Regions from separate parts of the Homo sapiens genome. Here region 1 is linked to region 2. The links are contacts of gene promoters, found by promoter capture Hi-C in human tissues and cell types (Jung and others, 2019). All regions are on one chromosome and are shown on one strand. The core of a region is centred on a gene start or on the middle of the fragment in contact, and the rest is flanking DNA. Distances in the headings are between cores, read along the strand shown.

The links. The method cuts DNA at HindIII sites, captures the fragments that hold promoters and counts their contacts. A contact is called where the count stands out against the background at its distance.
Region 1: a contact is called between a fragment that was not itself captured here and the fragment with the promoter of DLC1 in region 2, in 1 of the 25 tissues and cell types used here (bladder).

The regions. Positions count from the first base shown.
Region 1 is chr8:13,654,364-13,657,777 of GRCh38, forward strand. No RefSeq gene overlaps it. Among named protein-coding and RNA genes, the nearest start is that of C8orf48, 89 kb to the left of the region's middle. The HindIII fragment of the contact is 6,310 bases long and covers 1-3,414 here.
Region 2 is chr8:13,512,745-13,516,179 of GRCh38, forward strand. DLC1 (DLC1 Rho GTPase activating protein) reads right to left here and starts at 2,107. Exons shown (of 18, transcript NM_182643.3): 1 at 1,858-2,107. The HindIII fragment of the contact is 7,641 bases long and covers 1-3,435 here.

The sequences.
Region 1 (3,414 bases), core at 533-3,032, 140 kb after region 2:
CTGAAAAAAAAAAAACACAAAAAATTAGCCAGGCGTAGTGGCATTTACCTGTAGTTCCAGCTACTCAGGAGGCTGAGGCAGGAAAATTGCCTGAACCCGGGAGGAGGAGGGATGTTGCAGTGAGCCGAGATCGAACTACTGCGCTCCAGCCTGGGCAACACAGCGAGACTCCGTCTCTACAAAAAAAAAAAAAAAAAAAAAAAAAAAAAATTGTGTTTTGCTGCAGAGGGATTTTTTAAATGATCAGAGGTGTTTTTTTTTTTTTAACAGAAATTCATATTTTGCTAATATGAAGGCATAAAACAGTAACATAGAGTGATGTATTAAAAAATCAATTACACTGGGATAATGTTGATATTCGAAATGGCTAGATAATTGGGGAGTGTTAAATGCAACAAAAGTCAATAATCACAAAGTGTTAAGGTTAGAGAAAGATCAGTCAATGGCTAAACAAAATTAACATTTTTATAGGACTATTTCTGATTATTATCGTTTTTGTTTTGTAAATGAGGAATACTGTTAAGAATGGAAAAAAAAAAATAACATGCATGATGCTGAGAATAGACATACAGCTTTCAAGTGAAAAGAACACAAAACTGAAGTTTTCATCCAACTCAGCCGGGTGCGTCCAAGAGTGGTTAAACCAATGACTTTGAGAATTTGTTGAAGGTGTGTAAACCATCAAAGGGGTTCAATGTAGGCTCAAAGGAAGCATTTCATTCTGACTTTGCTGGTTAGGTATATATTTTTTTTTTCAGTCTGCTAAAAGCCAAGTTATATACGCAGTGGTTACTTATCTGGCGCTTTAATTCAATAGGATTCACTTGCTAAGGTACACTGCCAATAAAACCTTAGAGTGCCTTCAGTTATAATTTAAATGAGACATTGCCCTCCAGAGGTCTTCTAAAAGAACTGACCTGGACAAGATCTAGATTTAGGCGAGACAATTAAGTAAATTAAAAACATACTTTAAGAACACCGTTGTACTTAACATAAATCAGTTAAATTGCTTATATGTGTTTCCAATATCCCTTTAAATTTGATATTAGCAAAAGCAGTAAAAATATCTGTAAAATACTCTGGTTTTCCATACATTTTCAAAAATTGTACATAGTTCTTTCTTTTTAAAATATTCACTTTTTGTCTTTTGTTGTTTTTCCCTAAAATAAGTAGAAAATCCATTTAGGCCAATCAATTTTGTGTTTATTAAGCAAACACAAGTCTTTACAGCCATATTTCAATTATGTGGTGATTTGCTATGCTCCAAGAGATTAAGTGATTGTGGGAACATAGTTCTCTTTGAAACACAGCTCTTCTTAATAAGAAGTCATAGGCCAATTTATTTATCACACAATTGTGTTGAAATATTGAGTATTTCTCGTGGAGAAAAAGGAATACAGTAATGATGCATTGATGGTAACGAAAAAAGTAGGGTTGAGAATGTGAGTGTGGGGTAGGCATTGAATTACAAAGAGATTTTTATTTAACATCAAATCTAGTATTTGATTGTTTTTGTCCCAAAACTTCCTTCTTCTTTCTTTCATCTCCTTGAAGATAAAATTAGATTTTTTTTTCTTGCTGTATGTCTTAGTACTCAATTGGTTCACTATATCCTTGGCTCCAGGTGACTTGAAATCTTACTCCACGCACTTTCCTTAATCTCCAGTAATCTTTAGCTTGTCAGTGTTCAACTCTTATTTTTCAACATCACAAGGTGCTCCTCAAATAATCACTCTTAAACGGAGGAGGATGGTGCAGGAAGACAAGTCTTTGAGTGAGGATCATCAGATGAATCTGGATACTTCCATCTTCACTTTTCTGCCTAAAATTCATAACCAGGAAGCTAAATATTTATACTTTGATTTACTAATTCATTCAATCGTCACCCACTCACCCATTTATACACTCACACAACACTCATGCTTTCAGCAGCTATTAGGTGCCAGACACTATGTGAAATCTAATATTAAACCTGGTGGCAGGGATTAATACCCTACACCTGGTATTATTAATCCCTGGTGAGATATTGTCGCTGCCCAATGCCCTTTTAATGTCCTCCTTGCTCCTTCCTGATCTCTTTTTCTTTGAACATGTTAGGCCCTTTGAGATTAGGATAGAAACCGTTCAGTGAGAATATGACAGAAATCTGAGAAATCTTTTAAAAATGGAAGCTGTAACCTAATCTACACTGCCAGCATCTTTATGAGATCTGGACAGTTTCCCTCCACCTGCTCAGTTTGTTGCCAATGCTTGGTTTCTTCAGGAAGTGGCTTTGTTATCTTCCTAAAGTTTCAGCTACTTGTTGCATGTCTTTATTAAATCTCTGACTCAACACTGGCTTTCCTGAATGAGTAGCTCATTCAGCAAGAAGGAGAATGCCCACTTCTGTTTTTGATAGCTTTCAAATTCTTACTACCTGAACTCCTGCCTGAGTTTCAGAGGACATACCCTCGAAAACTTGACCTGTTGTCTCTCGGCCCCACCATCCTCTGCAAGTTGCCAGTCAGATTTAATGACGTGATTGCTGACGAGACCAGGTAGAGCTCCATTGCTAGCAGGAAGAAGACACCCAGGAAGAATGGCTTTTTATTCCTAAGACATACAAAAGCCGTTTAATAAGTAAGAACTGAGTGTGTGGGGGAAAAATCCCTCAGAGAAAATGATCACTACAATTTTCATTCTCCCCCATCTCCAATCCCCCAGTCCCAATTCTCCAGGCAGTAAAGGGAGGCAATGGGTTCTCTGTGGGGAAAGATAGAAAGCAGGAGTCAGGTTTGACAGAGGAGGGTAGTCTTGAGCATGGCACATTGAGGGCAGTAGTTTTCTGGCAGGAACCGAACAGAACTTCATGGAAGAAAAGGACCTGTAAAGAGGGCGTTTCTGTACACCGGGCTGTGTTCTTCTATCCAGCAATTGAAGGAATTGAATAGAACTTCATGGAAGAAAAGGACCTGTAAAGAGGGTGCTTCAGTTTGCCCAGCTGCATTCTTCTAGCCAGCAATTTAGGGAACTGAGTCATTCCATTTTGTAGCTTCCCTGTCCCCTCTGGTTTGAGTAGCTGCATACCATCTATGTATTAATGTTGTATTCCTTATCTTTTCCACTAGATATATTCAGTATTTCAGTATAATTTTAGGACAAGTAAATTGGCCCATGACTTTCTACTAAGAATAGCTGTCTTTCAAAAGAAAAATCTGCTTCCAAAACCACGTAAAATAATTTCTCAAACATAGCCAATCATTGGATAATTGGAAAATGGCCTGTAAATACTTGTACTGCTTAACAAATACAAAATTGATTGGCCTTCCCTTTCCAGTGGAAGAAGGGGAAAAAGAGAGTGGAGGAAACTTGTCAGCATCTTTAAGGCCCTAACCCAAAAGAAACAAACATCACTTCCATTCATGTTCTCTTGTG
Region 2 (3,435 bases), core at 857-3,356:
AGAAAAGCTGTTTTCTAGCCCTATTTTTAAAGAAACATCAGATTAAAATTAATATAATTATTAGCATATGGATTGATTTTCTTGACATAAACATCAAATATAATAAAATAGTCATAAAGCAAGTTACTACTGTAAAGTGTTTATTGAAGGCATACTGATTTGATTTTTTTTTAAAGTTAGGATTTTTTTCCCCACATAATTAACATTGGTGACAGTTTTACCTTTTTTTTTTTTTTTTTTTAAATTAGAGGAACTGCAAATTTCTGTCTGCAAAGCACCCTTCTACTGGACATGTTCATACTTCATTATGCATAATTATTATGGGAGGGCAGGATGATGGGATAAAAAGGTATCTGAATTATGAATCAGGGCACTGTGGTTCTGCTGTCCTCTCTTCTATTAGCTAGAGGTGTGACCTTGGACAGGTCACTTTTAAATCCCATTTCTCAGCTTCTTGTAGACAACCTCAAGCCATTGTTAGAGGAGACCATCTCTTATGTTCTTTCCTTCTCTGAAATTCCATTTGGAGATTTTAATTAAATCATAATTTAGATAAGTCAGTATTTTATCTTCCACATATATAAAAAGTAGATTCTTTTTCTCATATTTAAGAAGTTTTAACACAAATTGTCAGTGAATAGTTAAAATTTATCAATATAAGTTATTCTAGCATAAAATTTGAGAATAGCTAATATAGCAGATGGTCACCTTGTACTATATAAAAACTTATAATGAAAACAGTTACTTCATTTCTTATGATCCAACTGTCAAAATAGCTCTCCATCTTTCACTTAGTATATTTTGTATTCATCTAATAGATTTGAAAATGTACATGAATATTTCTTCCCTTTATGTACCATTTTATTTCTATAAAATGATGAATTTTATTATAAATATTCAGAAATATAACAGTATCTTATGCATTATAAGTCCACACTTTTTCGGTCATTACTAAACTTCTTTTCTAATATATTGTACATTTAAACATTTAAGATTACCTTGAAGAGACTACAGTCAGGTGGAAATGTAATTTTACGATTACATAAGTAAGGACACAAACAGTTTCCATATGACTGGAGTGATTTCTGGCTGCCTTAAAAGAGTTATAATGAGTGTCAGTGTCATTGAGATTGACTTCAGTTATTCAAAATATTACACAAAATGTGACCGGAGCAAGCAGTGAATCCAGGAAAATTAATATAAACTAAATTCGATTCCGACATTTAAATTTCCAAAACTCAGATTAAATACTATTTAGGACAGAAATAATTCCTGAAATTTCACGTGTTTACTTTTTTTTTTTAAATGAACCTTTTAAGCTGTACAGGAGAAGCTTGACATATGATTGAAACTGGCTTGGGTAAAATAATAAGAAATTCAATCTTCGTAGTTTTAAATGAGACACAAAATACTCTTTGGAGACTGATTATTAAGCACAAGTCACTCGGGTGCTTTCTACTCTCCCTGTTGGCAAAGGAAGGTAGGGGAGGAATTCATTTACACCTCACACTGATGTGTGAGAAAATGTATTTGTTTCACGTTATGCCAAGAAATAGGAAAACTGATCCGACAGCTCAATTAATAAATAAGTTAAACGTAAAAAGGGATAAAAATAAAATCTTACTTTATGGAGGAAAAGAGTTAAATCTATATGGAGCCTGTTTTAGAACTGACAGTTTGCTAAAACGAATTGACTCAGAATTTTCTACTTATCAAACATTTTCCACTTCTGATTTTATGGCTTTGCTCTAAAACCTAGGAAGTCACCAACTCCGTGCAAGATGCTAACATTTATCTCAATCTTTCTGCCTCTTCAAAGACCGCCTCAAAGCATAAAGATAGTCCATAGCGTCTTACCTAGACAACGAGGAGCTGAAACGCCAAGGCATGACACTGCTCAACACTCAGGCTAGGAAAGAAGTCCGTCCCCGTTAGTTTCTCCAAAATCTAAGTTCCCATTTCGTGGTTGAGATCATGGCTCTATTCTGAGCAGTTTCACGCAGTGTGTGAGTCTAACAAAAACACCCTCTGCAGCTGGAGGGAGCCTTAGCTAAGGCAGGATCCTGTCAAGGCATTCCTAGTGACTTCTGTCTACTAAATTCAGACTGAGGTTTTGCAAAAGGGGCCTCCACAACCAGGCCCAGATTGCCTGGAAAGTATTTCCTGCCTCTGAGGAGTGTGCATGCTAGAAAGGCTGTACGAAGAGAGGGGAGGAGGGGAGAGCCCAGCCGCCTGGGCGTTTTAGGAGTTCTGATTTTACACAGAACTCAAGTGAGTTTTGTCAAAGCTCTTGAGGTGATTAGCTGTAGAGTCATAAAGTCCTAGAGCTTTTTCTATCCCACACTGCTTATGAAAAAAGAAAGAAAGAAAGAAAGAAAACGTAGTTTTCTCTCTATCCACAACCTTTCCACTATATTAAATGTATATGCACAGCTTAATCAAAATGCCTGTGCTTGCTCTCATTTCAAAAGATCTTTTAAGAGAGCAAGATGAATTTAGCCTTAATACCATAATTCTTCTAAATGGCAAAACCTTTTTTGAACATGACTTAAAATTGGAAATGCTGCAGCTTTTCATTCTGTCCCTGAGACCATCTGTAAGTAAAATCCCAAGCATCCAGTTAATAGAACGATTTCTTCCAGATCTCTCTGATCACAAGAATCCTTCACAGAATTAAAATAGTTCGTGTTATGGCAAATGCAGCAGCGCATTACCTCTAGTCAGAATCCTCCAGTTACAAAAATCCAGTGCTGGAGCAGAAGACAGGCTCCATCTTGATCGTATTAGAGTCTTGCTGACATTAAACACTTACAACTGCTTCCATCTAGCATGGCAGCGTTCCTGAATCACATCTCTAAAGCCGCTCATGGTATCTGCATCCTTCGTCCGTCACAAATTTTGTGAACTATCATCTGTTTATCTTTTCTGCTTTCTTGTGCCTCCCTTGAATGACTTCCTCCTAGCTGCTCCAGGTTGGGAATTTGGACTACCATTTGGTTTTGATTAAAACCAGACAGGCAACTCTGGAGAATTTAGGGAATAAGCTAATGGAAACTGCAAGTATGGCTTTAATTAGTGCATCAATTAATAATAGATGTTAGCTCGTCTTATAATAAGATATCACAAATACAAACACAGAGGAAGCTGAAGTCGTTTCAGGAAAAAAGTTACACCAATTTTCCTTCCTTTATGACCCAGAATCCTCTTTAGAGAATGTGGAAGGAAAGAAGAGGGAGGTGGTTTTGGGACATCCAGGCTGTGGAGAGGCCAGTAGAGCAGCTTCATTGTTTATACCAGGGAAGCAGGAAACAGCATCTCTGACTTTAATTATCTTGCTTGGTGGAAATGGCTCAGTCATGTCTCCCTTCTACTTTATTTACAATCAATGGATTTCGCTGCTATTTATGACTCAAGCATTTTTTTGGGGGGGGACTG